Regions from separate parts of the Homo sapiens genome. Here all the other regions are linked to region 2. The links are contacts of gene promoters, found by promoter capture Hi-C in blood cells and fetal thymus (Javierre and others, 2016). All regions are on one chromosome and are shown on one strand. Each heading gives the region's core, a stretch centred on a gene start or on the middle of the fragment in contact. The rest is flanking DNA. Distances are from core to core; before and after follow the strand shown. Region 1 holds the start of GPATCH2 (G-patch domain containing 2). Region 2 holds the start of RAB3GAP2 (RAB3 GTPase activating non-catalytic protein subunit 2). Region 3 overlaps MIA3 (MIA SH3 domain ER export factor 3). Region 4 has its middle 3.1 kb from the start of TRT-TGT2-1. Region 5 holds the start of TAF1A (TATA-box binding protein associated factor, RNA polymerase I subunit A). Region 6 overlaps MIA3 (MIA SH3 domain ER export factor 3).

Evidence for each region. Contacts are between HindIII fragments. The CHiCAGO score rates a contact against its expected background, and 5 or more counts as called.
Region 1: a contact is called between the fragment with the promoter of GPATCH2 here and the fragment with the promoter of RAB3GAP2 in region 2, in 4 of 17 cell types (total CD4 T cells, non-activated CD4 T cells, total CD8 T cells and 1 more). The highest score is 8.5, in total CD4 T cells.
Region 3: a contact is called between a fragment that was not itself captured here and the fragment with the promoter of RAB3GAP2 in region 2, in 2 of 17 cell types (monocytes and naive B cells). The highest score is 10.8, in monocytes.
Region 4: a fragment that was not itself captured here is called in contact with the fragment with the promoter of RAB3GAP2 in region 2 in 1 of 17 cell types (total CD8 T cells); the score reaches 6.2 in total CD8 T cells.
Region 5: a contact is called between the fragment with the promoter of TAF1A here and the fragment with the promoter of RAB3GAP2 in region 2, in 5 of 17 cell types (activated CD4 T cells, naive CD8 T cells, total CD8 T cells and 2 more). The highest score is 7.8, in activated CD4 T cells.
Region 6: a fragment that was not itself captured here is called in contact with the fragment with the promoter of RAB3GAP2 in region 2 in 1 of 17 cell types (total B cells); the score reaches 5.3 in total B cells.

What each region holds. Positions count from the first base shown.
Region 1 is chr1:217,629,800-217,632,641 of GRCh38, forward strand. GPATCH2 (G-patch domain containing 2) reads right to left here and starts at 1,291. Exons shown (of 10, transcript NM_018040.5): 1 at 1,117-1,291. The coding sequence starts at 1,172. SPATA17 (spermatogenesis associated 17) reads left to right here and starts at 1,545. Exons shown (of 11, transcript NM_138796.4): 1 at 1,545-1,647. The coding sequence starts at 1,580. RefSeq lists enhancers at 1,230-1,299, 1,330-1,569. The HindIII fragment of the contact is 9,292 bases long and covers 868-2,842 here.
Region 2 is chr1:220,271,125-220,273,824 of GRCh38, forward strand. It overlaps RAB3GAP2 (RAB3 GTPase activating non-catalytic protein subunit 2), which reads right to left and starts at 1,329. Exons shown (of 35, transcript NM_012414.4): 1 at 1,099-1,329. The coding sequence starts at 1,213. The HindIII fragment of the contact is 3,718 bases long and covers 1-2,700 here.
Region 3 is chr1:222,644,991-222,647,690 of GRCh38, forward strand. MIA3 (MIA SH3 domain ER export factor 3) reads left to right here. Exons shown (of 28, transcript NM_198551.4): 7 at 564-695. Among named protein-coding and RNA genes, the nearest start is that of MIA3, 28 kb to the left of the region's middle. RefSeq lists an enhancer at 1-66. The HindIII fragment of the contact is 1,853 bases long and covers 515-2,367 here.
Region 4 is chr1:222,460,394-222,463,334 of GRCh38, forward strand. No RefSeq gene overlaps it. Among named protein-coding and RNA genes, the nearest start is that of TRT-TGT2-1, 3.1 kb to the right of the region's middle. The HindIII fragment of the contact is 4,058 bases long and covers 1-2,941 here.
Region 5 is chr1:222,588,547-222,591,366 of GRCh38, forward strand. It overlaps TAF1A (TATA-box binding protein associated factor, RNA polymerase I subunit A), which reads right to left and starts at 1,387. Exons shown (of 11, transcript NM_005681.4): 1 at 1,181-1,387; 2 at 1-19. The coding sequence starts at 17. TAF1A-AS1 (TAF1A antisense RNA 1) reads left to right here and starts at 1,374. Exons shown (of 3, transcript NR_110613.1): 1 at 1,374-1,416; 2 at 1,712-1,861. RefSeq lists enhancers at 1,354-1,887, 1,888-2,420. The HindIII fragment of the contact is 1,624 bases long and covers 1,035-2,658 here.
Region 6 is chr1:222,666,208-222,668,907 of GRCh38, forward strand. MIA3 (MIA SH3 domain ER export factor 3) reads left to right here. Exons shown (of 28, transcript NM_198551.4): 28 at 1-1,800. AIDA (axin interactor, dorsalization associated) reads right to left here. Exons shown (of 10, transcript NM_022831.4): 10 at 1,806-2,700. Among named protein-coding and RNA genes, the nearest start is that of AIDA, 45 kb to the right of the region's middle. The HindIII fragment of the contact is 924 bases long and covers 891-1,814 here.

The DNA of each region.
Region 1 (2,842 bases), core at 41-2,540, 2.6 Mb before region 2:
TTACAAATAGTATAATCAAATCTATATTCACTATAAAATTAACTACAGGATGATCAGGTCCAACTAGAAATATTTTGGATAAGGTATTCTTTTAACTTTTCAGTGATAGGTGATGGAAAAGCAATTATCTGAGATCACAGACTACTAGAATTCCTCATGTTCTAATTTTTGCAGAATCTAGGAATGAACACGCACCATTTAGCCACATTTCTTTCACCTGTTGGTCAGAACTTTATGTTTGAGGATTTTCAATGGGAAATTGCTTGTTTGTGTCACTGGTTGTCTTATGTTATGTTTGGAGGAAAAGGGCTTGGGAGAAAAACAGGACAGATAATACAGAGTGTTCAACTAGAAATCCCCAAATCAGGATTCTAGCTCTAGGATTAAAATGTACAGGGCAACTTTGGACACGGTACTTGAATTTTCTGTGCTTGTGATATTCTGCTATCACAAGGCTGTCATAGGATAAAGTGTATTAATTTGTGGAAATACTTTGAAAAGTCAAAGCAATATATTATTCTAACATGATACCATAGACATAGTCAAGCCCCAAACTTAATCCTGACAGTTATAGGTTCTTGGAAAGCCCCCATACATATCTCACTTTAACTTGAATAGAATGTTCAAGAGGGTGGAAACAGGTAGGTTACCCTCTCTCTTTAAAAAAGGGGGTGAGAGGGTGATGTGTTTTCCACGATTGAACTTCCAGAACTCTAGATTTCTGGAATTTATCTTCCAAAAGACTTGGTATAATCTGGTAAATATTGAAAGAGGAGTGGGGAATAAGGCCCGGATTAAGATAAATTCTTCCTGTCCCTAGTGTTGTCAACAATCAATGAGGAGATGAATTGCTCCTGGAGTACAGGAAGCTTGACTTCTAAAATATTGTTAAACAAGCAATCAGAAAACATTTACTGTATTCTTTCACAAATCTTTGGCACACACCCAAGAGCTCCCTCAAACTGCGTGCATCCCAGGAATGAGTGAGAGCAAGGCCTAGATGTCTTCAGATCATCCATCACAGCTCCCTCCCGCCTCCATTCCAGGTCCAGCGGAGCGGCCTCGGGCAATCACACCCTTCCCTGACCTCCCCCTCCCCAGGGCCGCCAGCCTCACCAGCTGTTCCCGGCTGCTGGAGCTCCGATCGGTTGGCGCCCGGCGGCCCCGAACATTAACGACACCCGGGAGCCTGGCCTCGAAGCTCAGGCCCGTGAACAGACTCCAACTACAACAGCACCGGCGACTTCCAAAGAGCAGTTCAGCATTTTGAGATGAGCTTCCGGAAGCCGACAGGCGGCGGAAACCGGATGCCCGGAGCAACCATTAGTTCTCCGCGTTTACTGCTTTCCCCTTCCTATAATCCCCTCTTCCTACTCGCAGTAGAGACAGAGACAAATAAATTAAACTTTTGTGCTACACAGAAATTTCTTAATTCTCTTTTTAGTGCTCTTAAAGTCAAAGCAGCATGAGAGAAAAGAGGAGTGAACAAAAAGTCGAACCCCGGGAGTGAGCTATGGTTTAGCCCAGTTACCATGGAGACCGGTAGTAACACCAGTTGTAAACCCAAGGCCAAGAGACCATGGCCACGTTAGCCCGGCTGCAAGCTAGGTCGTCGACTGTAGGAAATCAGTACTACTTTAGGAACAGGTAAGTCAGGAAGAGAAGGATCGCGTAAAGGGCGGGCGTGACTTTATACCAGTTGTTCCTCAGCGGGAGTTTCCAATTAACGATTTAACGATTACCCTAATTCATTAAGTAGTACCCAATTCTTCCCTTAATGGGCTGCAAACATAATTGGGAGTTTCTGTTACCATACAACGAAATTCTAAATAGAGAGGGGCCGTAGATATTCAGTGTGAGATGATTTAAGGAAACTCCCAGCATAGATAAAATTGTAAAGTGCTTTTTTTCTTCGACATCACCACTCTGCAATTTGATGAAACCTATGTTCAATACCCTGACTGGGGGTCACCCTGACTCACTAGCCCAATGAACTCAGATTGTGTCCCATCTACCTAGGGATTTGAGCCTCCGTTATTTTACAAACATCACTAAACTCAATTGTTCTATGACTCATTCGCCTTTTTAAAATGAACGTATCTGCCGGGTGTGGTGGCTCACGCCTGTAATCCCAGCACTTTGGGAGGCCGAGGGGGGCGAATCACCTGAGGCCAGGAGTTCTAGACCAACCAGGACAACATGGTGAAACCCCGTCTCTATTAAAAATACAAAAACTAGCCGGGCATGGTGGCACATGCCTGTCATCCCAGCTAGTCCGGAGGCTGAGGCAGGAGAATCGCTTGAACCTGGGAGGCAGAGGTTGCAGTGACCCGACATTGTACCACTGCACTCCAGCCTGGGTGACAAATTAAGACCCTGTCTCAATAAATAAATAAATAAATATAAATAAAATAAAATAAAATGAAAGTGTCTAAACCATTCTGACACGGTAACTAGTACCAATATATTAATTAATAGATAACGGGTAAGAAAACCACTAGCAGTCTTCTTCATCTCCCTACAGCCAAACTTCTTGCCCAGGAAGAGTTTCATTTTAAAGAAGCATTGCCCCAGGAGTTTTTGTAACTTAAAAGAAACTGCAAAAAAGTGAATTAGACTATTATGGAATACAGTGACATGACAGACCAATGGAAAATATGTCAATGAGATAGGGTCTTGCTGAGCTGCTTTTATTCTAACGTTTATCTCACCTACTACATCATTATTTCACAACGTACCTCTCTTACAGCACTGATCACAATTCAATTTTACATTCTTTTATGAGATAATATCTATCTCCCCTCTTAAACTAGTAGCAGAGACAGTGTCTCTTATTTTGCTC
Region 2 (2,700 bases), core at 79-2,578:
AACCAGAAGTTCCTACAGCAGGGTCCACCAACCTTATTTGGTTTGTAGCACCAATGACTGGCACAAAGTATGCAATCATTCACAGATGGGTTCGATTTGATATCTTCTAAATTTTCTAAAAAAGGGAGAGGAGCTTAGTGGGCTTTATATCACCATTCCGGTATAGCACAAAGTGAGAGCGCTGTACTACAAAGCCAAATGTGCTTCAGGTTGGAAATGCAAAAATAAAATAAAATAAAATAAAATAAAATAAAACACAAGGCACACCCTTTCAAAATGAAATGTACGAAATTCTGAAAGCCTATATAGTATCTAATAAACCAGCCTTGGAACTTTATACTACTTGGGGAAAGGCTTATTAAACACTTTGATGATAAAAATAGGTGGAAGGCTTCAATAAAGCAAATTAACCTTTCTTGGCTATGTCACTGTAATTTTAGTTCCTAATGTAGATTCTCGTTCACTTCCTGACAGGTTATTTTCCTTCTTTGAGAGAGTCTTACCTCAAGAGTCACTCATTTGTCAGCCATTTGTTCTCAAAATCTGAATGGGGGAAATGCAGATGAAAGAAGGGAGAGTGTGGGGGGATGATCAACACTTTCGGAATGGGAGGTAGCAGAAGGCCACAGTCTCCGGGATGGAAGAGAGTGGGAGCTGGGGCAATACCAGAGTGGAGCGCTGACATGTGGCAAGGAACGGGGAGGATGCGATCACGGAGCAGGCAACATGAAACAGGGAACGACCCCAGGCTGAAGATGGGAGACGGAGAAGATACTCAGAGAGAAAGCTAGGAATGTGTGGGGGTGGGGGGAGGGAGGGAGAAAGCGGTGATAGGCAGAGGCGAGAGGAAACAAGACGCAGTTTTTAGCCAGGGGTCAGAGGGCCTAAGGAGAAAAGCTGGGTCGAGAGGAAGACAACACAAATGGGGCTTCAGGACGAGGTGGGCAGGGTGTCATCCCGGAGCGGAGGGGAGGCACGGGGAGAACTGGGGGTCCAGAGGGCAGAGGCAGGAGGCGCAGAGCGAGTAGGAGACTCGAACCCGTGAGCAGAGGCCGCGGGTGACGAGGGAAGGAAGGGCGAGGCCAGAGAGGCACTTACTGGGGTCCCTCCGCAAGGCGCCGCTGAGGATCTCCTCCCGCAGGTGAGGAAAGAGGAAGTCCCGGGCGGCCTGGAGGTCCTGGAAGTAGCAGAACTGGACAATGGAGCAGGCCATGGCTCCAGGGAACCCCACTACGGCACTCACCTTACCTCACCACGCCCTGCCCCCTCCACCCCACTGCGGCCGCCACCGAGCCCCAATAGCTCTAGCCAAGCAGAAGGCGGAGAAACCAAACCGGAAGCTGTCACTGACACGGGTCCGCTGTCTCCGAGTACTGCGCAGGCGCAGGCTGGCCCAGGCGCCTAGGGCGCGGGGGCCCGGGTCACGTGACTACGGCGCCGCCGCTGCAGGTGGAGCCAAAGTCGACGTGGAGGCTTGGGGCAGATTTTTCAGTCCCAGTTGTGTGTCTACGCCGAGGCATGAACCCTTTCATTCATTCTGGCTTTTAGCCAGAGGTGTTCTAATTGGACTTGTCCGCGCAGCCCTTTGACTTATTCAGTCTTATTGGTCCCCTACTATTGGCACGATCCTGATGTTTCACAGAAACTAATTCGTTTTAAACTAGTGGCAGGCCAGTGGGGGACCGTATCCTGCAAGAGTCGGATTTTGAAAAGATTAATTGCTCTTCCGGAGATTAGCCCCGTCAAGGCTGGCTTTAAATGCTCCTACTATAGATTCCCATAGTACTACGCAAGCCCAATATAGTACGTGTTATAGTGTATTATACACTTTTGTTTTCATTATTCATTTGGTTTTTCATTCATGCATTCATCCATCCATTCAACAAATATTTGTTAGTCTTTTAAATGCCAGCCACGCAGGGTGCTGAGCATTAGAGAACAAAAGAGAAGAAGTACCTTTTCCCAGAAAGCTGGAATTCTAGTGACTGATACAGGCAGTAAGCAATTAATTACAGTATTTCCCTTTAATCCAAGGGGATATGTTTTAAGATCCCCAGTGGATGACTCAAACCATGGATAGTACTGAAACCTATGTATGTGTATTATGTTTTTACCTATACATATATATGATAAAGTTAAATTTATAAATTAGGCACAGTGAAAGATTAACAATAACTAATAATTAAATTGAATAATTATGTGGAAAATGAACCCATGGATAAAGGGGGGACTACTGTACTTAACTATTTAACTGAAATTGTGATCATGCTAGTAAGTGCTTCATAAATATTTGCTGAAGAAATAAATGGAATGCATACATAAAGTAAATAGAATAACTTGTTTCTTTGACAAAGCACTATTTTTGAAAGTACTTTACATTGTTCATTTGGATAGTCACAAATGCCATCTAAAAATAGTGTGTCTTATCCCATTTTTAAAATAAAGAAATTGAGCTGTCTCTGAGCAGACTTTAAGTTATTTTTCCAAAAAATAAAAACAAAAAAAATTATTTTAATGTGAGCACAAAGGCCTGTAGGCACTTACACATTTCCTAAAGGAAACCTAAAGAGGCCATCCACTTTGTATGAAAAAAGGGCACAGGAACAAATGAAAGGCAAGTGGATGGGGTCCAGAGCATTCATTTCTGTCAGGCCCGTGGACATACACACTTAGTCCTAATAATATAACAACTATAATTTA
Region 3 (2,700 bases), core at 191-2,690, 2.4 Mb after region 2:
TAAGGCACTAAATTCAAAGCGGTTTATCTAGATCAGTTATCAGGAGCTATCCGAACTTAGTCAGCATTTGTTCTTTGTTTATGTAAGTCGATTTAAGATTTTAAATCTTAGAGGAATAAAACGTTATTTGTGATATTCATTATCATCATATTGGTTTTATTTGCAGCCATAAAAAGTTAGTTACTTGTATATAAAAGGTTTTTTGTCTTATGTGGTTTTTTAAGCAATAAAAACCAATTTATTCAAGACAAAAGTATGATGCAGAGAGATTCCAGCCATGTTTTAGATAACATATTGTATCAGGGCCTATTGAAACTAGAAATATATGCCCAACCTAAAGACATTTAGAGTCATAGTACTTCAAAACACCACAGGCCAAACAATAAGTATGAGACTCCCAGTATCCTGTTTTTCTTAAAGCAGTGAGAGCTACTGAAGATTTTTGAGGGGATAGGTATCTGATAGAGTTGGTTTAGAATTTCTGTGAATGAGTCTTTGTGACTGCTTTATGGTAAGCTTCTTTAAGGTTTCTCATTATTTCTAACATTATTTCTAACATTCAGCTAGTTGCTACATTGCCTGATGATGTTCAGCCTGGGCCTGATTTTTATGGACTGCCATGGAAACCTGTATTTATCACTGCCTTCTTGGGAATTGCTTCGTTTGCCATTTTCTTATGGAGAACTGTCCTTGTTGTGAGTAAATTAATGCATACTTTAACTCATAAATTCAAGTATGGTTTTATAATCACAGTCCTTTTGTTTCTTTTTCAGTTTCTAATATGAACAGAAATTAATGCTTTTAATTCAAGCTAACCTTGTAAAATAATTTAGTATAATTTTTGTGTTGGTAAATTCTTAAGTGAATAAGACAACATGTATAATCTCAGTGGGAAAACTTCAGTTTATATGTCTCATATCAAAGTCTAAATTTTAAGAATTAGGTGGGTCTGTATTTCAACTCACAAAGGATGAAAAGAAAGAATTAGATAGGTCATATGTACACTGTTAGTAGAACTAGGAATTCTTAGAGCCATCCTGAAAAATAGTTTCATGATGTGTATGATAAGCCTTAAAAATGGTTATATCCTTTTATATTGTATTAATGTCATGTCTAGTAATCGATCCTAAAGAAATAACCAGTCAGCCGGCACAGTGGCTCACACCTGTAATCCCAGCACTTTGAGAGTCCGAGGCAGGCGGATCACTTGAGGCCAGGAGTTCGAGACCAGCTTAGCCAACATGATGAAACCCCATCTCTTCTAAAAATACGAAAATTAGCCAGGTGTTGTGGCACATGCCTGTAATCCCAGCTACTCGGGATGCTGAGGCAGAGAATCGCTTGAACCTGGGAGGCGGAGGCTGCAGTGAGCTGAGATGTGCCACTGCACTCCAGCCTGGGTGACAGAGTGAGACTCCATCTCAAAAAAAAAAAAAAAGAAAGAAAGAAATAACCAATCATGCATTAAATATCTTACATGGCCGGGCGTGGTGGCTCACACCTGTAATACCAGCACTTTGGGAGGCGGAGGCGGGTGGATCACATAAGGCCAGGAGTTTGAGACCAGCCTGACCAACAAGACAAAACCCCATCTCTACTAAAAATACAAAACTTAGCCGGGGGTGGTGGCAGGAGCCTGTAATCCCAGCTACTTGGGAGGCTGAGGCAGGAGAATCGCTTGAACTGGGGAAGCAGATCATGCCACTGCACTCCAGCCTAGGCGACAAAGTGAGACTCTGTCTCAAAAAAAAGTTTTAAATATCTTACATGAGAGCATTCAGTAGAACAGTATTTATTAGAGTGAAAACTTTGACACAACCTACTGTGATTCACAGTGGGAAAATTGTTAAATTATTGTATGTTCATATAATGGGATATTAGGCTGCTTTATATAATTCAAAGACATAGGAGCACAACAAATACTCACAATTTAACATGAAGTAGAAAAAAAGTAGAAACCAAGACTTTAAGGTATAGATAAACTGTATATTACATAAACATACACACAGAAAATAAATGCTGCAAGGAAATACAATAAAATGATAAAAATTCTTATATCTAGGAGATGAGGTAAGTTTTCAGTTTTTAAAAAATGTGTATTTTCCAGATTTTCTGATTTCATCATGTACTATTTTACTCAGAAAATATCTTTTTATTTCGAAATGCAAATTATATCATGTGTAAAGACACACCGTTAATTTTTTTATCTTCTGTGCAGAATTTGCCTTTCAGACTTAAACATGTTTGTATAAGTGTGTATACTCATACTTGTACATCCTTATGATTATACTATATAGCATTCAGCTGCATAGTTATTTAACATAATTGGGAGAAGATTATTTGTGTAAATGAGCTTTGCAGATGAAAAGCTTTGTATTGAAACTTCACAGTTAAAATGGCCAAAATTATTGGATGCAAATCTTTCTAAAACTGAGTACTCTTTTTCTGATTTCATAATTATATCACATATATCATCATTAATAAATTTTCTCTCACAATTGATTGTAAAATTACTTAAAAAGAAGGGTCTTTTTTCCTGTGAGGCCTTCTCTAACCTCCTGGTGCTTTTCTTCAGATAAAAAGGGAGAATCAAAGGGTAAATGGAAGGGGAAAAGTTGAAAACATTTTACATTTCCCACTCTTGTTTCTCCTATTTGTTAATAAAAAAATTCTAACGCCTTTTTCGTTTTTCAGAAAGTT
Region 4 (2,941 bases), core at 329-2,828, 2.2 Mb after region 2:
AGGGCCTTGTGTGCTCACCCTCTGCTCTCATGGAAGGTGAGTCTGCAAAGCTGAGAAGTGGGTTCCTGGGAGGTGGGCAGGCCCTTGGGGTATGTATGGGTCAGGAAGGCAGTGGAAGAGAGAGTTTTAGGAGGAAAAGCAGTCATCGGCACCACGTGCTGCCAAGACACCAAGGCTTCACCCACATAGAGCTTACCTAGTGCCAATGAGGGTCATTTTGGTGGAGCTGTAGGGCCAGAAGACAGATGGGGCAAGTGGAATGTGTGAAAGGTAAGGGTCAGAGTGAATGTGTGGGGACAACTCACTGGAGTTGAAGGGCAGTTTTTATTTTATTTTATTTTATTTTCCACGAGAGAGACACAGAAGCAGACGGGAAGGATCCAGTTGAGCATGAGAGGTTGAGTGTCCCAGGGATAAAGGGCATAGTGGTCCTGCAGGGGTCCTCAGAGGGAAGAGAGGACTGGGCCAGGCTTGGTGGCTCATGCCTGTAATCCCAGCACTTTGGGAGGCCGAGGTGAGCAGATCACCTGTAGTCAAAAGTTTGAGGCCAGCCTGACCAACATGGCAAAACCTCGTCTTTACTAAAAGTACAAAAATCAGCCGGGCATGGTGGCAGGCATCTGTAATCCCAGCTACTCAGGAGGCTTAGGCAGGATAATTGCTTGAACCCAGAGGCAGAGGTTGCAGCGAGCTGAGATCATGCCACTGCACTCAAGCCTGGGCGACAAGAGCAAGACTCTGTCTCATAAAAAAAAAAAAAAAAAAAAAAAAAAAAAAAAAAAAAAAAAAAAAAAAAAAGAGGGCTCTCACTGGGGAGAGATAAAGCTCCTCTACCATAATCGAAGGGCAGGCAGGAAAGTGAACCTGGCCGCACAGGTCCAGGTGGGCAGTCCCTGAAGGGAGGTGAGGCTGGACCTGTGCTGACCTCTTTGCACCCAGCAGCACATTATATCCTGAAAGTGTGTACCCTCCTAGCTCCACTTCCCAGGTGAACAGGAGCTTCAAAAGTTAAGTAATTTTCAGAGGCTGGGAAGGGGGACTGAAGAGAGGTTGGTGATATACTCTGGTTCTGTGTCCCCACCCAAATCTCATCTTGAGTTGTAATCCAAATTATAATCCCCATGTGTTGGGGGAGGGACCTCATGGGAGGTCACTGAATCATGGAGATGATTACCCTCATGCTATTCTCGTGATAGTGAGTGAGTTCTCATGAGATCCAATAGTTTTATAAGGGGCTTTTCCCCAGTTTTGCTCGGCACTCCTCCTTCCTGCTGCCATGTGAAGGACATGTTTGCTTGTTTGCTTCCCCTTCTGCCATGATTGTAAATTCCTGAGGCCTCCCTAGCCCTGTGGAACAGTGAGTCAATCAAATCTCTTCCCTTTGTAAACTACTCAGTCTCGGGCAGCTCTGTATAGCAGCATGAGAACAGACTAATACAGTTGGTCAATGGGTACAAACATACAGTTAGATAGAAGGAATAAGTTCTAGTGTTCGATGGCACAGTAGGGTGACTATAATTATCAATAATGTATTGTATATTTCAAAATAGCTAGTAGAAAAGATTAGAAATGTTCCTAGCACATCATTTCACCCATGATGAAGTTCAAGTTCCTTCTTCTCATGAAGTCGCAGCTTTTTTCTGGCACTAGATAAGCTCAAAGGTTCCTTCTGGCCCTTACATCCTCATACCCTCTGACCTTGAGTCTGACTTTGGACAGGACAGTAGAAGGTCTGCTCCCAGGAGGAGAGGATGCACGTGGGACAATGACTCAGAGGAGAGCCAGACAGCCCCTACACCAAGTGGGTGGGAGAGCCTTCCTGGGCTGTCTTCTGTTTCCCACCACCTCAGGGATACCAGGGATTCTATGGGGAAGGGGAGAGGATGTAGGCAGGGGACAAAGGACAGAATGAGGGTGAAGGAGGTGAGAAAGCAAAGCAACTATCTTCTTAAGGCAAAAAGAAGTCCCTTTAACACACAAAACAGCTGAGGGATGTGGCTGGGACTTACTAGTTTTCATCTCCTTTCCCTCCCAACAAAACTGGACCGTGGGATGCCTTCCCTCCTGGCAGTGCCAGAAGCTGGAATCTCTCCACGTGGTTTTCTGCTGAGGGTTGACCATAGACCAGAAGTAAATGCTCAACCTTTGAAGAACATTCCCTTTTATGTTCGTTTCTGGCATTTCACAGTTTCCTAGCACTCTCAGGTTCACTATTGTGTTGAATCCCTCAAAATGCTCTGAAACAGAGAGGCCAAAATTATCACCTCCATTTTACAGTCTTTATAGGATGTCTACTTTATCTTTATTTCATCTTACCATTTAACTTTGTGTCCTTTTTCTTACAGTACAGAAATTGGAATTGAAAAGAGGAGAGGTTCCATTTGTCTATCACATGCTACCTCCTGCTGCTGGGAGATAACGTGCATCAGTATTGGGAGGAGGGGTCGAGGGTGGTGCTGTGCCAACTCAAGGGAATGGAAGAAGGGAAATTCAAAATTCATTTGTTGAAGTCCTAAGACCCAGTCCCTAAGAATGTGACCTTATTTGGAAAGAGTCTTTTCATAGGTAATCAAGTTAAAGTGAGGTCAGTAGGGTGGGCCCTAACCCAATCTGACTGGTGTCCTTATAAAAAGGAGAAATTTGGATACAGAGCTATACATAGAGGGAAGATGATGTGAGGAGACACAAGGAGAAAATGGCCATCTACAAGCCAAGGAGATCCTTCCTTCACTGCCCTCAGAAGGAACCAGCCCTATCAACACCTTGATTTCATACTTCTAGCCTCCAGAGCTAGAAGATAATACAGTTCTGTTGTTTAAGTCACCTAGTGTGAGGTATTTTGTTACAGCAGCCCTAGCAAACTAATACACTCCTCAAAATCGCCTCTGAGATGGAAAATAAGCCAGCTCTCTAAGGCTCTTGCCAAGACAACATAAGACAT
Region 5 (2,820 bases), core at 137-2,636, 2.3 Mb after region 2:
TCACTGAAATCACTCATACCTATTACAAGATGAGATATCAGTTACTTTCTGTACATCTTAATCCACAGTCTTCTGAGTTGTACAGAAAAACGGCTATCTTTTTATCTAATAAATATAATTTGATTAGCAAAATGCATTATACCTGTCAGCTCTTTTAAAGTAAAAAATGAATTTAACTATGTCAGCAACAGCCAAAATGAATGATCCATTAAAGACCGAACCACTAATGTTTCAAGTCCATGTAAAGATAAATAAGATACTGCCCCTCTAATTTAAAAAATCTCAAGTCTAGACGAAGAAACAGCAAAACGTATAATAACAAAACAATATGAAAAGTACAGTAAGAATAGAAGTAGCAGCTAATATTTATTAGGCCCTTACTATGCACTAGAAGTATAAATTATCTAATTTAATCCCCACAGCAATCCTGAGGTGGGTACTATTACTTTCTTCCATGTGAAGGTTGAAAAAACTGAGGGGCTTAGTGAAATGATGGAACCTGCCTAACATCACAAAAAATGGTGAGGACGATAGTCTAGGAAATAGAACACCAAACTACTTGGCATGACTAGAATTCGAGGTGCGTGTGGAGGAGGGGTGCGGAAGGTGAGAAACGAACCTAGAAAAATCATCATAAGCCAAGGTGAGTTTAGACTTACTCCTAAAGATGCTCAGGGCCCCTTCCTCATTACCCATATGAAATCGAGTATTAGTGCCCCTGATACTACCTCCAAATTTCCCCTATTTCCCCTCTTCAATCCTACAGCACTACTCTAGTTCAAGACCCCTTCAAACAGTGCCTAGATTACCGCATCAGCTTTCTAAACAATTACCCTGGCTCAGATTTTGCATCTCTGCATTATACCCAGAGTAAACCTTCTAAATTCAAAGCATGTGGCTAGGAGTATGAATTATAAGTAACAACTGAATTTGAATCCGACCCATCACGTGTTTTCAGGAGTAGTTACACAAATCCTCCCTTTCCAAATCCTCAAAAACCCAAATTGGTGACCCGCAGTTGCCACGGCAACCAAAGCTTCTCTATCCCCTTCTTTCGTTTTCAGACCCCAAGGGTTTCAGGTATTAGGAGGAAATATCAGGAGAACATGGATGAATCCTGACACACCCCTTCCCGTTCCATTTAAACGCAGGAACCACGGGCGATATCTGCGGCACTTACCCGCCTAAATTTAGAGCTCCTCAGTAAAGCTAAACTCAGTCTCCGACTCCGGCCCACGTGAAGAAATTCCCACCGGAAGACGAGTTAGGAGAGCTTTATATGAGCAGGCGCTAAACCTGGTTTAGGTATTTAGGCAGCGCGCGGCCCGGCTCGTAACTCCTCCTGCTGCAGCAGGCGTATCGTTGGCCTCGCCTCGACCCCGGAAGTGACTTCTGGAAGTGACCCAGGAAGTGACAGTGAGCTGCCTCTCTGCGATTGGTTTTGCCCGAGTTTTATTTTTGTCTGTCTCAGCTAGAAAGTGGGAGACTTTCATTTAAAATGGAAATTGGGGCGAGGGGTTGGCGGCTGGGCGAAGGGAGCATTCAAAAGCGGAGAATGTCACTTTACCCGAGAAATTCACTACGATGGGCCATTGGTTTCTGCTCGGCTCGCAGGCGCACTGCACGAGTGGAGGTGTGGCTAGTGGCTGTGATGAGATAAATCCATGCATAGCCTTTTCATTGCGAGCTTGAAAGTTCTTTTCTATTACAGTTTTAGCTTTAGGTTTAATTGGTTCGACTGCCTTCTCCACAATTTGGGCGAGAATTTCCTTTGCCTTCTCAGCAAAAGTTGTTCTGCGGACCCGTCTGGGTCAACTTTCATGAGGGACATTGAGACAAACAAATGAAATATGGGTTAAAGGTAAGATGGTTAAACCGTGTGAAATGAGAGACAGTTGAGGGGTTCTAGGGAAGATGATCCCGGAAAAGGACTGCAGGCCCATGGAAACGCAGTGTGCTTCTCCAATATTTGGAGGGCTGATCAGTGAAAGAAGGATCAGACCCTTTTTCTTAGCAGCAGAGAACAGAACTAGGACTAATAAGTGAAAGGTAAAGGGAGGCTGCTTTCAAGTCACAGCAAGAAAGAATTTTGTCCACAAATGAGGATGCACAAATATAGCATAGGCTCCCCCAGGAATCACTGAGTTTCCTCTGTGTAGGTGAACAGTTTGAGTAGAATCGGAGTATCGGAGAGGAAATTAAAGGGTCTGGTAAGAGTTTGAGGCCGGGCGCGGTGGCTCATGCCTGTAATCCCAGCCCTTTGGGAGGCCGAGGCAGGCGGAAAGTTTGAGCTCAGGAGTTCGAAACCAGCCTAGTCAACATGATGAAACCCCGTCCCTACAAAATAAAAATAAAAAAAAATAAGCTGGGGTGATGATGCATGCCTCTAGTCCCAGCTACTCGGGAGGATGAGGTGGGAGGATCACCTGAGCCCAGGGAGGTCGAGGCTGCAGTGAGCTGTGATCACCCTACTGCACTCCAGCCTGGGCGACAGAATGAGACCCTGTCAAAAAAAATTTTGTACATGGATTCCTTAAAATGCTACAAATAGTTGATTCTATGTTGTCTTCTGCATAAAACAATATGCAGTAGTTAAGGACTTGCAAGAAAAGTTCCTTCTGCTGCTCTCTCTGTCATTAGTTCTTGAGTCCTCACTCAAGCTTGTGCTCTAACTCTACAGGCAGGGCTAACATAAATTATGCGTAGTCCAGGAGACCACACACAAAATAACATACATAATCATTACTTTCTTGTCTAGAGGCTTAGTCTGGCTACTTTTCTCCCATTGGCTTGAGGTGTAAATTCACCAAAACCAGCCCA
Region 6 (2,700 bases), core at 103-2,602, 2.4 Mb after region 2:
AACTCAGGCTCCCAGAACTGAAGATGGTGGCTGGTGGCACACTTCCGGCTGCTCCTCCGTCACCTGTGAACTCTACAAGTGACGTCTTTTTATTTCAAAGAAGTTTATTTCCCACTTGTATAGCATTCACATGCTTTCTTTACGATCCTCATTGTCTATTTGAGAATGGTTTTCTGAGAGTGAGTTTACATTAGTAGCAAGAGTTGTTTGACCTGATGTTCCATTGTTTTTACCATTCCTGTAGAAAAAGGGTGCACAACAGAAAAATGAAAATGATGTGTCATGGCCATAAAAGTATAGAAATCTTTAAAAATTTTAAAATGTACAGTCCCTTATCTATCTTTCCCATTCCTTGCCACTGATTTTTGAGGAATATAATAAAAAGATTGGAAGAGTATAATGCCATGAGAAAGAATGATTTAGGACTGTGAGGGTTATAACATGCCCTAGGTCAGCAACCAAGGGTTGAAATCAGTTCTGTTTTAGGGGGAAATGGGGGCGACAGATATTATTCCAAAATTAATATTAATTAATATTTAAACGTTGGTGTTTTTATTTAAAAATCAGTAACTAACCATCTGGAATTGCACCATACTTAAAGTCTTATCCATTACTACACTGTCTTTAAAACAATGTTTCTTTAAATACTCTACAACGTTTCTAAGAACGAACTTCAGACATTTTAATTACAGTAATAATAGCACTCCTTTTAAGGAGTTTCAGATCCACACTAAAACTAAAATCATAAAAGGCTGATACTTTTGTTTGCTGCTAGGCTATATTCTTCCATTCTTTGAAGTCCTATGATGTAATATTTTTGAAACCTAGTGTATGTCTTGTCACTGTTGTGATATTTAATCGATTAAGAATACCTTGTAAAAAGGAGCAAAAGCTTCAATGTGAAACAATTTTCTCTCTTTATACTAAACAACTGAAGATAGATAGTTTAGAAAGATAAGGACCTTTGAAAGAAGACAACTCTGTCAAAGTTCATAAGGAATATAAAAATTCTTCAGGAAAAGAGAATTCAATCTATATGTCCTCCCGTTTAATATCAAGAATAGAAGAAATTAAGAGGAAAACTCCACAGAAGAGCATAGGCCACTTTTAGCCATGTAAAAATAAGATTAAGTCACAAATACAACTTTTGAATTTACCTGTCAATATCTCTTTAGGACACAAAACAATGCTGAAGTTAATATAATTTCTAATTTTAAATGTCATTTAAGTGTAGATTATGCCATCTAGGAAGGTAAGTAGGAAAGGTAAATTAAATCTATTTTTAAAATTCAAAATATTAGAGTATTTTTCCCCTCTAAAGCCTTTTTTGGTGATTATTCTGTATCTGACATAATTGAGAAACTGGTAAGCTGTAAAGATTCCAGTGTAGCTTCTCTGAGAAGTTGTGAGCCAGTCCATAACTGCTTCCTCACATCCATCTGATTGCACCATTTCTGCAGCAAACCCCAAAGCAGGGTGCCAATATGCAGATGGCATAGGGAGTATCATCCCTCAGCCAAATCACTTTTCCATCTCTAAAGTTTCATCTATTTTGGAAGTCATCTCCAACTAATTGTGTCTGGATTTAGTTGCTAAAATTGTCTTATTTATGAAGCAGCAATATTCAGCCTGAAAGCATTTCTGCCATAGTTGTTGTAGTTATATCGCCAATGGCTGATTTTTTTCATTGGAAAGTAAATTTAAGTAATTCGTGGGATGTGGTATATTCTGTGTCAACTTCAAGATAATCACTCATTTTCTCGTTATATTCAGGTCTGAATTAAAGTTAAGTTAATCACACAGTGTTCAATTTAAGCTTCTTTAATGTTGATGAAAGGTATTTGTAGTTCATATAAACTATACTTATGTGAAGGATAGCAGATGCTTCATATAAATTATCATTTTGATATACATATCTTATGGTTTATGAGAAAAGAGAAAAAATAATACATCGGTTTTGCTACACTTTAATGGGTTTTTTTTTTAAGGGATTTTTTTTCAGGTCTTGTCAGCAACATCAAACAAAAGGTACTGAGTACTCCACAGGGTACAGAGTGCTGCCAAGCACCTTAGAAAAATTACATGACACGGAGAAAATGCGCCTCTTGCTCCTTGAAGAGCTTACAGTCTAGGGATTTGACAACTCACAGTCTTAGGAACTGGGCAAAGTAAGGCAAATTCTTCATCCCCTAGAGCTATTGTGGACTGAATCATTTTAGAATTTGGAATTAATCCAATCAAGATGAGAGACAAGACTAAATTTGGCTGAGAATTCATTCAGGCTCGCATAGTTTTTATTAACATCCGTCTAGTAAACAGAATGGACCTAACAGACAACTGAAAGTAAAGACTAGATCTCTTGAAGTGCAAGGGCTACAACAACTTAGTTGTGGTTACTTATTTTAAAAAGCAAACATACTGAATGGTATGACTAGGGTGATTACACTAGTTTAAAAATAGGCCAGGTACTGACACTGCATTCCCCTCATGCATTGCTCATTTAAAATAGTGAATATTAAAATATGTGGGCTTTACATCTAACCCACAGAAAGCCCACCGCAAATGTTCTGTGTATCAAATATCCACCTCATGTGTACTATGAAAGTTTTATTTATGCCCCATTAAGTCAAAAGTAAATTATAGTAAGCTAATGACCTGCATATTTTCATATGGATGAATGTCAGTATATCTAAATAGGAA